Linked DNA regions of Homo sapiens: region 2 is linked to region 1. Evidence: promoter capture Hi-C in 16 types of primary human blood cells and fetal thymus (Javierre and others, 2016). All regions are on one chromosome and are shown on one strand. The core of a region is centred on a gene start or on the middle of the fragment in contact, and the rest is flanking DNA. Distances in the headings are between cores, read along the strand shown. Region 1 holds the start of MED31 (mediator complex subunit 31). Region 2 overlaps PITPNM3 (PITPNM family member 3).

Region 1 (6,244 bases), core at 2,327-4,826:
GAGAACCCAACAGCATGATGAAAATAAGAACTGAAGGATTTTAGTTGACATAATGCTTCCAGCAAGTCAACAATGTGATCCTCTTCCCCACTCCCACCCCCAAAAGTAATATAAACTTAAGTTGAATTAACAGAGGTGTATGACCACATGAAGAAAAGAAAGGACCTCTGGCCCACTGTACTCTGACCACACCTGAAGGCCTGTGTTTAGTTCTTGGCTGAACTGCATAAAGTACAACTGCCAAATATCCAAAGGAGGGAACCTCAACTCATGAGAACTCTGGACACCATGGCACAATGGCAGAGGGTAGTTGAGAAAAATAGATGGAAGAGAGATGTTATAGTGGCACCTACTGGCTATCAATGAAGCAGGCCAAGTGGTAGAAAGTGTCTCTTCCACCAGGTGGAAAGCAGCTAGTAGTGACAGCTGCTCTCAGCTTCAGCCCAGTTGTTGACTTGGGAGAATTAAGATCTATGGTTACTAGATCTTCCAGATTTGAAAGAGTAGCTGGAAATCTGCATTTGTTATATACAACTTTCTGATCTTTAAATGTTGGCAAGTATTAAAAAAACTAAAATCTTCTGCAGACTGAATAAAACACCCAAAAGGGGCTAATTTGCAGTCTCTCTTGAATGTAAATATCTGGAAGGCTGTTGTCCTCAAGAGGGTATAGAATGGTTCTAGCTTCATCCAGGGACAAACAGACTGGGGCTACAAGGAGGTACATTATATCACAATATAAGGAAGAACTTTCTAATATCTGGCTAACAATCGAATCAGCTGTCCCTGACAGAGTAACACGGGCTCAATGGAAACCTCCAGAGTGTAGATGACCATCTCTCGGCAACGTTGTGGGTAAGATTAAACTTGTTGGTGGCTAAGGCTTCCAACACTGAGTCTGTAAATCTACATACATACAATATTCGTTGAAGTCTACTTTTCTTAAAAGTCTGTTCTTTGGATTATTAAATGGATAAAAAGCCAGAAAAGGTGCAAACGGTCCTGCAGGCAACATAAGACGTATGTGCTTCGTGAGTCAATTGTTATTGGACACAGAAAAGTGACTTTGAGAGAAGTTTGAAACATTTTCCTCTCAAACTTTTTTTTTTTTTTAAAGGTTCATTATTGCTTTCTACCTGCTTAAGACAAAGCAGGGGTGTGAGTTCAAGGTGGGTTGGTTTTTTTTGTTTTTTTTGTTTTTTTTTTTTAACCATTAAAAGGGAATTGCTTTGTGGTTATAATATGTTTCTTGCAACTTAGTAAGCCTTAACATGAAAGTGTCTGCTGAACGACCTGAATGGTAAATATATATATATAAATGAGTTAATGCATATGAAGCATTTAGCACTGTTCCTGGCAAATAAGAGGCCTTAAATAAAAGACAGCAACTCTAAGACTCAGGTAAGATCACCTCCTTCAAATAACCCCAGAAACACCTTCCTTACAGATACCCTCTTTTAATTTCAGCCCATGGCTTATGCTACTACATTTACAGATTGTGAGTTCTTAGGGACCAGAAACCTGGTGAGATGGGAAGGGTGGTAAAAGACAAGGTCAGAAAAGGCAGGGCCAGATCGTATAAGGCTTTAGTCCAAGAAAAAAGACTGGATTTTATTCTGCATGGAATGGAAAGCCATTGAAAGGTTCTAAGCAAGAAAGTAAAGTGTTCTGATTTATATTTTTAAAAGATTAAGCTGGTTTCTGTGTAGAAAGCTGTTTTGCTTGGTTTGGGTTGGGGTGGAGATGGGGGCAGGAAGGTAAAAGTGGAAGCACAGATAACCAGGGAGTAGATTACTGCAGTGTTACAAGTTAGAGATGAGGGTGTCTTGTATTAAGACGGTGATAACAAAAAGAAGTGGAGAGATTCCAAATACATTTTTGCCAATGTGAAACTAAGAAATCTATTATATAATAAAGTATACACATGCTTAGGATTATAAAAATTAAACTTACTTTAGATACTTGGCATATTCTGGGTCTTTCCAGTAAAGCAAGTATTTAAGATAATTAACAAAAGCTTTGTCTTTGAAGTAACCTCTTTGGGCAAGAACTGAAAAGCATTAAAAAAAAAAATCTGTAGGTCAAACCAATCCTTAAACTGTGATTTGTTACCCCTAATATAAAGGATCTATTTACATAACACCCCCACCACCAACACACATTGGATTCAAAACACAAGTCCCAGTACGCAATTATATCTATATACCAGCATAAGTGTAATGTCATTCAACTGAGAATGTGTAAAAGTAGATACTATTTTGAACTGCAACTCTTCTGTCAGAAATCATTAATAGCTACTCAATTTAATGAGGTGCTTAACAACTTACAATTAAGGTAATTTGGGTTGGCTAAACATTGCACAAATTCCAACTCCAACTGAAACCGAAGTCGATTTCCAGCATCATCTAGGAGACAAGACAGCAAAAATCATGGAAAACAAAGGTCACTGTATATAATACTGATTTGTAGTAAGGAAAGAGCAATAAAGAAACCTGACTAATGTTGAGATGGTCTTCCTAAACTAGGAGTGGGAGGAGATAAACCTTCCTTCGAAATCTAAGAAAAGCGGAGCCCTGATTAAAAGGAGTAAGTTAGAAGTTTCTCTAAAGTTAAAGAGAAATCATCAAAGAAAACAGCAACACAAACGGAGAATTCCTACCACTCGTGGGCCACTATGTAGGAATTTTAACAGTGATCACTAAGGTAGGCTGTAATAACTGTGGCTTCCCCTATTTTAATAATGCGTTGTAACAACTGTTAACAGTGATTAAGTTTCGCAAACGCTAGGGGCTGAATCAGTAAAGAAAAACTTAGGATGCAAGAGACTGCGGAGAGCCTAAAAGATCATGCAGCGCATGCATATAAGAAGCACCAGGGTCAGGAGATCGAGACCATCCTGGCTAACACAGTGAAACCCCGTCTCTACTAAAAATACAAAAAAAATTAGCCGGGAGCGGTGGCGGGCTCCTGTAGTCCCAGCTACTTGAGAGGCTGAGGCAGGAGAATGGCGTGAACCCAGGAGGCGGAGCTTGCAGTGAGCCGAGATCGCGCCACTGCACCCCAGCCTGGGCGACAGAGCCAGACGCTGTCTCAAAAAAAAAAAAAAAAAGAAGCACCAGTAGCAGAATGATACACAAGTCTGGCGACGATATTTCAAACTTAGGCAAGCTCATGTGAGAAGCAGAAAACCAATCAAGGAGGACACGGTTTAACACACAAGTCCTCTCCCTTAGTCTCACCCACGCCAGGGAGCTGGTGGGGTGGTGTCTGAATAGCAAAGATGTGCGAACAAACCAAATCAGGAAAACTGCAAAGAGTACCTTAGTCTTTCTAGACGCTACAAGAGCCTTCTCTCCTCTCTGTCCAAATATTAACCCTGCCAAGAGTAAGGCCTGGAAGGAGGCCACGGGGAAGAGGTCTGGGTCAAGGAGAGTTCCATCTGCGAAGACTCCAAGATCAGAGAGCTACTCACCTGTCTCCATAGCGACAGCAGCGGCCATAACAAACGAAGACACCAAAACGCCACCAGCCTGACAGAGCAAAAGCCCAGAGACGCGGGCGAAGTTCCGGAAACCACGGCTCCCTCTTCCGGTCCCGGGGCACTGTGGGATATGGGGCGGGGCGGCTCCGCCCATCCCCGACCAGCCCTGGGATGGCTCCACCCGCGCTGGCTCCAAAATAGCGAGGGGGCGGGGCCCGGGCCGTGGGAGCGCCTGAGGGGCAGGAGTCCAGTGTTTTAGCCTTCGAAGGACCATGGTGCTTCCACGTCATCGTGTTGTGGCGCTCCCGGCTATGGCAGTACCGTAGTTTTCCTCTCTTCTGCCTGCGGTGACCATTGGGCTGTAGGGTGCCCCGAGGCCTCCCTGGCCCCCTCACGCCGGCAGAATGGCCTCAGCCCGAGGGGCCAAGCAGTCTTCGCCCCGGGTGGGGACCACCCGCTACACAGAGACGTCCACGGTCCGCGTGGAGACCTCGTCCCACCGCGTGGAGACGTCGTCCCGGCGGGTGGAGACCTCCCAGCGCCGCAGCGAGGGGCCCTCCCTCTCCCCCTCGGGGAAGCGGCTCCCTCGCATCCTCGAGGCGTCCTCCCGGCACGTGGAATCCTCCTCGCAGCGCACGGAAACGACCTCCCGCCACGTCAGAGCCTCGTCCCTGAGGGTGGAGACGTCTCTGCACTGCGCGGAGAGCCCGACCCCGCGGGCCAAGCCGGCCGCCCGCCAGAACGAAAAAACGGCCCGATGAGATGCTGCTTCCCAAAGGCCACCAAGGGGCCAGGGCCCTCAGCCAGGACAGAAAGGCCTCCAGTTGCCAGCCAGCCAGCCAGCTGCCAGGTGGACCAATCATTTTCGGTTTCATGGAAACAAACCATAAATCAATGTAAGAAACAGCCAAGCCGCAGTTTCTGAACACAGCCAACGTTTACTGACCGTCCTGCGTCTTGGACCAGCCTACTTTTGACCCAGTGAACTATTTTCACTTGAAGCCAGCACAGAAGGTTTTCAGGCCCAGGATGCTGTCTAAATCGGGTTGATGGACAAAGAGAGGCTGTTTGAGCCTCTGAGCCAGGTGAGTTTGGGATCCACAGCCCTCAGAAAACCTTCACCCCTTAGGAACAGAGACCAAACTGAAATAATGACCTGTGGAATGATTCCATGCCTGCTAAAAACTCGAGGGACAAGGAACAGACTCATAAATTATTAATTGGCCTTTGTTTATGTTTCAAAGTAAATGGTCGTTTTCTTTATGCTAAGTCTTTGTACCTGGCACCCCCATCCATACACTTTTTTAAGGTAGGTTAGATGTGGTTAAAAATGACAGTAAACCCACCAGCAAGCAAAAATAATCTTAGAAAGTGAGAGGAGGTCACTGAAACCTGGCCTGAGGTTTGAAGAAGATGGAGAAGAGTTATATTTATTGAGAACCGGCTCTGTGCCAGGCACTAGATGTTCCTCCACTTACGATGGGGTTACCTCCCGTTGAAACTATTGTAAGTTGAAAATATGGTAATTTGAAAATGCACTTAATACCCCTAACCTACTAAACATCATGGCTTAGCCTAGCCTACCTTAAACATGCTCAGAACACCTAAAGTTGAGCAAAATCATCTAACAGAAAGCCTGTTTTATAATAAAATGTTGAATATCTCATGTAATTTATTGCATACTGTACTAAAAGTGAAAAAGAATGGTTGTAAGAGTACTTAAAGTACTATTTCTACTGAATGTCACTTTTGTACCATTGTAAAGTCGAAAAATCATAAGTCAAACCATCTTAAGTTGGGAACTGTCTGTATTCTGGGAACTTGGGCTATAGCAGTAAAAAAGGCAAAGTCCCAGCTCTAGTGGAGCTTACACTCTGGTGAAAAGGCAGACAAGCAATGATGAAACAAGACAATTTTCTATTGTGATTAGCACTATGAAGGAAATACATGGGTAATGTGATAGAGAATGGAAGTAAGTGGCTTCTTTTGATAAAATGGTCAGGGAAGGCCTTGCTGATTAGTTAACATGTAATCTGAGATATGTGTGAATGAACAGTGATCTGGAACAGGTGCATTCTAGGCAGAAGAACAGCAAATACAAAGGGTGGATGGGAACCAGCTTTGAATGTTCAAGGAACAGAAAGAAGGCCAGTGTGGCTGGAGTGAGAGAGAAGCAATTATATAGACATGGAAGCAGAACGGAAGAGAGGAGTTAAAAGCAAGCAGGGGCCAGTCCACAGAAGGTCTTCTAAGCCACAGTAAGGAATTTGAGATTATTCTAAGGTCAACAGGAAAACATTGAAGGGTTTCCAACAGGGGAACGACATGATGCCATTTACATTTAAAAAATATCCTTTTGGCTTCTGTGTGTAGAATGTGGGACAGTGGTTCTCAACTAAGTGTGATTTTGTCCCCCAGAGGATATATGGCAACCTCTAGAGACATTTTAGTTTGGTTGAAAAGTTGTTGGGAGGGGGTGGGTGGCACATTAGGTGCTACTGGCACCTAGCGGGTAGAGTCCGGGGATGCCACCTGACATCCTACAGTGCACAGGTCAACACCCTCCCCTCTGCCAACGATGAAGAATCACTGGTCCCAAAATGTCAATAGTGCCAAGGCTGAGAAACACTGACAGTTCTAGCAGCTTGGAAAGCTAGAGCATGGTCTACTGGGACAGCGCACCACTTTAAGGAACAGTCATGGAAGAGGGTTACCTTTAAAAGTAAAGAGAAATCATCAAAGAAAACAGCAACACAAATGAGA
Region 2 (6,504 bases), core at 3,949-6,448, 170 kb before region 1:
ATTTGGAAATAAAGGCTCCATTGAATTAGGGGTGAGGAAGGGATGGTTTTTAATCCTGAATCGGCCCCATGCACAACTCCCCCATCCCTGACGCAAACCTCTGAGCAGGCTTAGGCTAAATTTCCTCAAGTAGGGCGTGGAGCCAAGGCTCCGATTTCCAAGCTGCTGACTGTCCATTACAGGTCTCCCATCGACGATACACTCGGTCCATGCCCGGTTCACCCCACTTGACCCTGGAGGCCACTGGCTCTTCGCCAAAACACCTGCCCTCGCTCCTGCTGTTCTCCCTGCCTGGAAGATCTCAACCCTCATCCTCTAGCTCTTCTCCACCTGCCCAAATGCACCTCCCCTCTCTGGACCCTAATCAAAGGCCACCTCTTCCATGAAGCCCACCAGGATGGCACACTCTCTGCCCTACCCCTTCAGAGTCCAGGCTGGGCACTCATAAAAAAAATAGATTGGAGCACGGATCCCTGGACCCGCCATCAGCTCTGAAAGCTCAAGTTTACACCAGCCCTGGCCACAGGAGTGTGTCCGGGAGCCTGTTGGGGGCCTCTGAGCCCCAAGATGCCTCAGACAAGCAGGTGCTTAGCACAGGTGGGCGACTCTGAAGACAGAGGAGTCGGCTAACCTTCTGTTCTCACAGCCCCTGCTCAGGTGAGTCACCCTACTCACTGAGAGCTTGGAGGGGTTGAATGGGCTGGGGCCCCACCTCCAGCTCAGCACACTCTCTCCCACCCCCAAGAACCTACCGAGGAGGAGGGACTGCCCATCGCCCAGTGGGAACCTCTGGTAGCGAGGCACGCTGACAGGCGGCACCAGGTGGAACTTGGGCTCCAGCAGTGGCTCGAGCCGTGAGGCAGAGGGGTCTGCGCAATGGAAGAAGCTGTAGACCTGGCTGCAGGCAGGACGCACCTGGAAGCCTGGGGTGAGTGGGAAGACAGAGGGAAGCCACTTTCTAGTACCTGCTCCCTGGGCCCTAGGAGGCTCCCTGGAATGCAGCCTGGAGTAGCCTACTCCCCTCTCAAGAGCCTCCCCGGGCTCCCTGCTCCCCACGGGAACAAAGCCATTACGTTCAGTTTGTCTCCCCACCCAGGAGCGCAGTGACAGGCACCCAGCACTGCAGCCGTGCTGCACAGCTGCCCTTCCCCAATCAGGCTTGCAGCTTTCCTTTCTCTGAGCCTTTGCTCAAAACATCCCTTCTCCTTGTGGGCCCTCCCTCCCCCATTTCCACGGGGCAACTCCTTTAGATTCTTCCAGTTTTCACTCAGTTACCACCTGACCTAGGAAGCCAACCCAGGTTCCTTCAGGCAGGTCAGCTGCCCCTTCCACAGGCCTCAAGGCTATAAACACTCAGTTCCCAGGCCTGCTGCTAGAGTTCCAGGTTTGCCAGAGCTGGTGGAACACTTCTCTCGCTGACCAGCAGGTGTCTCCACTGAGGCATCCACCTCATCGGCGGGCCTCCCTGTCCTCCTAGAACAGGGACTGGACCGTCCAGCATCCAGGGAGCCCTAGGGTTCATTAGCGACACTGAGGGCAGCCATGGGGTTCTGCCTCCTCGCCTCCATTTCTACCACCCACTTTATCTGTTCCATACTGTAGCTTGTCAGTAAGCTTTGGCCAAAAGCATGGATCTGTGGATACCCAAGGTGCCCTGCAGCCTCAGACGGTCTGTACTTCTGTCCTTAAGAGTCACAGATACCCTCCCCACCCCTCATGCCTGCTGGTGCCAATCGCCTGGTGTGTACATTTTAGAGGAGCAGGAAAAGGCATTCGAGGTTGCAGGTATTAGCCGGGCACGGTGGTTCACGCCTGTAATCCCAGCAATTTGGGAGGCCAAGGCGGGTGGATCACTTGAGGTCAGGAGTTCGAGACCAGCCTGGCCAACATGGTGAAACTCCATCTCTACCAAAAATACAAAAATTAGCTGGGCGTCATGGTGGGTGCCTGTACTTCAAGCTACTCGGGAGGCTGAGGCAGGAAAATTGGTTTAACCCGGGAGGCAGAGGTTGCAGTGAGCTGAGATCGCGCCACTGCACTCCAGCCTGGGTGACAGAGTGAGACTCCATCTCAAAAAAAAAAAAAAAAAAAAAGGTTGCAGGTATTGCATGAGCAAAGGCACCTGAGGTGGGCTTGGGGATATGCGGGGGTGGGTGGTGAGACCAACCTGGCAGTCGTATCTGCCTCAGTACAGGAGAAGGAGAGGGTGGGAGGCAAGAGGTTGAATATTCTGTCTTCTCTTCCCCATAGGGCGTGACCACCGGACAATGAGGCCACAAAGCAGCCAGGGGCACTTGACATGGAGAGTGAAATCCATCTGAAGCTGCCTCACCTTCGCCCTGTGTCAGGAGGGAAGCTGCTCCTCTCTCCCTCCTCTTCCCCACCCTCTCTCCTCTCTTTCCACCTATCCCAACTCTGTGACCCTCCCTGCCCCTGTCCCCGACTTCACTCTCCTCATTCTGAGGCCCTGACACGGTGGCCCTAGTGACGCACAGGCACCTCAGGCCCCAGCCCACACCATCCCTACCGTCCAGCCCAGGCAGCACCGTCCTCCGCATGGCCAGGACCAGGCCCAGTGGCGAGCCGAAGAGGAAGAAGTCGGACACATCGAAGTCAAAGCGGCCCAGGCTGACCTCAGGGAGCTGCGGCCCCCCAGCCGCCGGGGTCTCAGACTCATCCTTTAGCACGCTGGAGTGGATGCTGCGGAGGGAGGAGGACGCAGGGCAGGGCAGGTCAGGGAAGGACCGAGAATGCGGGAGTGTTCACACAGCAGCGCAGCCTGAATTCTGAGCGTGAAGTGCCCAACCCTCCATCTCTGGGGCGGGGCTGAGAGTCCACCGGCTGCACACCACCTACAGTCAGCACTGGCCACCAAGGCCTGGCTGATATTTGGCTAGAAAAGGAATCAACAAACTTTTTCTGCAAAGGGCCAGAGAGTCAATATTTCAGACGACATGGACCGTGTGGTCTCCATTGCATCTAGTTAACTCTGCCATTGCAGCATAAAAGCGCCCATGGACAGTGATTAAATATGCATGGCTGGGATCCAATCAAATGTTACTTACAAAAACAGGCTGAGCACCTGGGGCGCCTGAGCATCCTACACACTGGCAGGCCTGCCTCGTCATGCTGGCTTTGTGTTGGCCACACTGAGGATTCCTGCACTGTGTACCAGACAAGCCCAGCCTGCCCAACACTCAGCTGGCTAACGTCAGTTCTGTTCTGCTGGGATCAGGGCTTTCATCGTAATTCCTGTTCCAGGCAACCCGCAGACACAGATGCAAACAGCTTGGTCTCCCCACCCCCAGCCCCAGCCCACAGATGAAGCAGAGCTTAAGGAGAAAAATGTGAGACACACAGAATTCCAACCATTTCCAACCCAGGTGCCCACTGTCCCGGGAAGAATCCAAGTTACGTTCAGCCACAGACCCAGAGTAGGACGCTGAGAATCAGAAGGAAACCTGGGCACCTCCCTGACCTTCCAGCTAGCCATTAGCTGCAGCTTAGAGTGAATCGATTAACTGAATGCAAAGCAACTAAACTACTTGAGTCAGAGGAGAACAAACTTTAGAAAGAGCTATTGAAATCATGTGGACAAGTGCCCCACCCTCAGGAGTGAGCGAGTCTGCAAAGTTGAATCCTCAGTCTCCGCACTCCCTCCTGCCTCTTGCAGTGTGAGCATCTCACAGTGAGATGATGACTCTGATGTTTAACAATACATATTTCATGTACAGCGTGGTCCCTAAACACATGCCAACTACTTAATTGCCAAAGAAACCACCATCTGTCCCTACACCAGAGGGGAAAGCTGGCTGTGTCAGACCAGCTCCTGGAAGCCTCCAACTTCTCATCACTCTCCAAATTTGGGGCTCTCCTAAAGGATTTTTCAAGGATGAGCCAGGACTGTTGAGATTTTTCACCTTGCAAGCCTCACTAGAAGGTAGCTGCTTTTCTAAAGGATCATCTGTCAGCGGGGCTTTAAACATTCAGAGATTTAAATGTGCAGAGTCTTTGACCTAATAATTCTTCCTCCAGGAATCCATCCAAATATAATCACCCTAATATATACATTAACGTTTATGCACAAAGATGTTCACTGTAGGGCTATTTATACTGCTAAGGAATTGGAAACAGCCAAAATGCCTAATTATAGGGATTAAGTAAACTGATATCCATTCATTCGACATTATATTGCCATTAAGAATATTTATCAAGTATTTTTAATTATATCAGGAAAAGATCACAATATAAAGGGTTTTTTTAAAATAAAACGATCTTAAAAGCATGTAGAAGGAAACAGTCTCTATGTTAACAATGAGACTGTTGGCTCCCTCTGGGTGGTGAGATGATTATCTTCCAAATGTTGTAATGACCTCATGATACTTATCACTTGGGTAAGGAGGAAGGAGAAAGGAAGGAAGAAGAGAGCTGAGGAGCAGAGGAAAAAGAAAGAGACATTCCTTCCAATTTGGGTCCAAGTTCAATTAACGTGTAAGCTGAATTAATGTGCAGATAATGTGTTTAGCCCACATTGATTAACATGTCTCTTCTAGAAAGTTAAAGGGCAAACAGTTCTGTAGAGGAGCCTGCCTGGCCCATAAACAAAAGTGTGTTGGATTAGATACATGAACTTGGGATAGGGAGACCAGAATGATGATCCCAGCTCTTCCGTCACTGGCTGCATGACCTCTAGAAAGTTCCTGACCTACTTGACCCTCTCTTTCCCTATGAGAAATGATAACAACACACACCTCGGGTGACTCACAAAACACAGTCACAGCAATTACTCCGCCAGGTTCTTAAAACCATGCAGTGAAGTAGGCTGGGCAGCATTATCTTTTTGCAGAAGAAAAGCCGAGGCTCAGAAAAGGACGACTGTTCCCAGTCTCTCTGCAAGTCAGAGCAGGGCAGGGACAGGGAACCAGGTTCCAGAGTCTCAGTACAGGGCTGCCGACGAGTGGCTGTGGTCCCTCAGTACAGGGCCGATGGCGAGTGGCCTTGGTCCCAGCATTTCAGTGCTTATCTATGGGCCCCCATGGAAGGGCCTGGGACATCTGACTGGTCACAGCCCTCCCAGTTGGCTCTGAGCCAAGGTCTTCTTGCTTCTGGACAGGGAGGGGCTACCTTGAGAGGAAGGCATGGTGCTGGGTGATGGCCTCGCAGTCATAGGTGGAGGAGTCGCTCTGTTTCCGCGGCAACGGCCTCTTGGGCTCCTCATCCTCCAACCCACTGGAGATGTCAATGTTGCTTTTGCTGAGACGCTTGCTGCTGGCCAGGCTGCAATCTTCCTCCACCGCGACTGGGGTGTCCTTTGGGACCGAACAGGGGACAGGAGAGAAAAAGACTGTTGTCACGGGAGACTCTGGGGCCTTGTCTCCTCCCCCCAAGCACAAACCAACCCCTTCATCCTAAGATGTGAGGGGCTACCCTTCTTCCAAAAGACACAGGAAGCCACATTGCAATCATGGTAGGATTTTAGGCACAGGCTCTCTCCCGCATCCACCGGGATTGACATTCCCACTGGGATGCTGGATGGCTGTCGAAGGGGCCAAATCCAGCTCTCCAGGCCTCAGTTTCCACACCTGTCATAATAATCCCCTGCTACTCTTGTAGAATTATGATACACTTCTTCTTCTTCTTCTTCTTTTTTTTCCTTTTTGAAACAGAGTCTCCCTCTGTCACACAGGCTGGAGTGCAGTGGTGCGATCTTGGCTCACTGCAAACTCCACCTCCTGGGTTCAAGTGATTCTCGTGCCTCAGCCTCCCAAGTAGCTGGGATTACAGGCACCCACCACCATGCCCGGCTAATTTTTGTATTTTTAGTAGAGATGGGATTTCACCATGTTGGCCAGGCTAGTCTCAAACTCCTGACCTCAGGTGATCTGCCCACCTCGGCCTCCCAAAGTGCTGGGATTACAGGCATGAGCCACTGCGCCCAGCTGGATTATGATACACTTCTTTGTGACCTGGATGTCATGGTGCCAACGTGAAGAACCAGCACTCTCTCCCCGAGGGGCAGGCCCTGCTCCTATGGGCATACCCCTCCCGCGGTCCTGTCCCCCGGCTGTACCTGGGTGCTGCTGATGCTCCCCTTCCGGCTGCTGCTGGCAGGGCTGTCCCCTGAGGGCCCCGCACTGTAGCAGATGGCATCGAAGGCCAGGAGGCCCCCCACACAGTCCCCGATGAGACACACCTGGAAGAGATGCAGCTGGGACTGCAGGCCTGCCCACTGCTGACCCCTCACCCCCACACCCGGCCAGAGCAGTGCTGCCTCCCCACAGGAGAATGAGAAACTCGTCCTTGGGAGGTGTTGAGAGAGCCCAACTGGGAAGCAGTGTGCAAACTGGGGAGGGTCAGGGTTGGCGTTGGCCCAGGCCAGCCCAAGGACGGGGAGTAGGCTACTCTCAGGGGTCAGACTTGGGCTAGAGAGCAGCATGGGCTCAGAATCAGAACTCAGACTGTTGGCCTCTGTTTTTCTATCTGTAAAATGAGGGCTAACTCAGA

What was found. The method cuts DNA at HindIII sites, captures the fragments that hold promoters and counts their contacts. A CHiCAGO score of 5 or more calls a contact.
Region 2: a contact is called between a fragment that was not itself captured here and the fragment with the promoter of MED31 in region 1, in 1 of 17 cell types (megakaryocytes). The highest score is 9.4, in megakaryocytes.

Annotation. Positions count from the first base shown.
Region 1 is chr17:6,648,029-6,654,272 of GRCh38, forward strand. It overlaps MED31 (mediator complex subunit 31), which reads right to left and starts at 3,577. Exons shown (of 4, transcript NM_016060.3): 1 at 3,473-3,577; 2 at 2,328-2,405; 3 at 1,954-2,050. The coding sequence starts at 3,500. C17orf100 (chromosome 17 open reading frame 100) reads left to right here and starts at 3,734. Exons shown (of 1, transcript NM_001105520.2): 1 at 3,734-5,448. The coding sequence starts at 3,886. The coding sequence ends at 4,242. RefSeq lists enhancers at 2,992-3,051, 3,142-3,221, 3,292-3,421 and silencers at 3,672-3,751, 4,052-4,101. The HindIII fragment of the contact is 11,591 bases long and covers 2,016-6,244 here.
Region 2 is chr17:6,471,905-6,478,408 of GRCh38, forward strand. PITPNM3 (PITPNM family member 3) reads right to left here. Exons shown (of 20, transcript NM_031220.4): 8 at 6,071-6,193; 9 at 5,125-5,309; 10 at 2,528-2,700; 11 at 753-923. Among named protein-coding and RNA genes, the nearest start is that of PIMREG, 31 kb to the left of the region's middle. RefSeq lists enhancers at 2,153-2,745, 2,746-3,337. The HindIII fragment of the contact is 7,172 bases long and covers 1,613-6,504 here.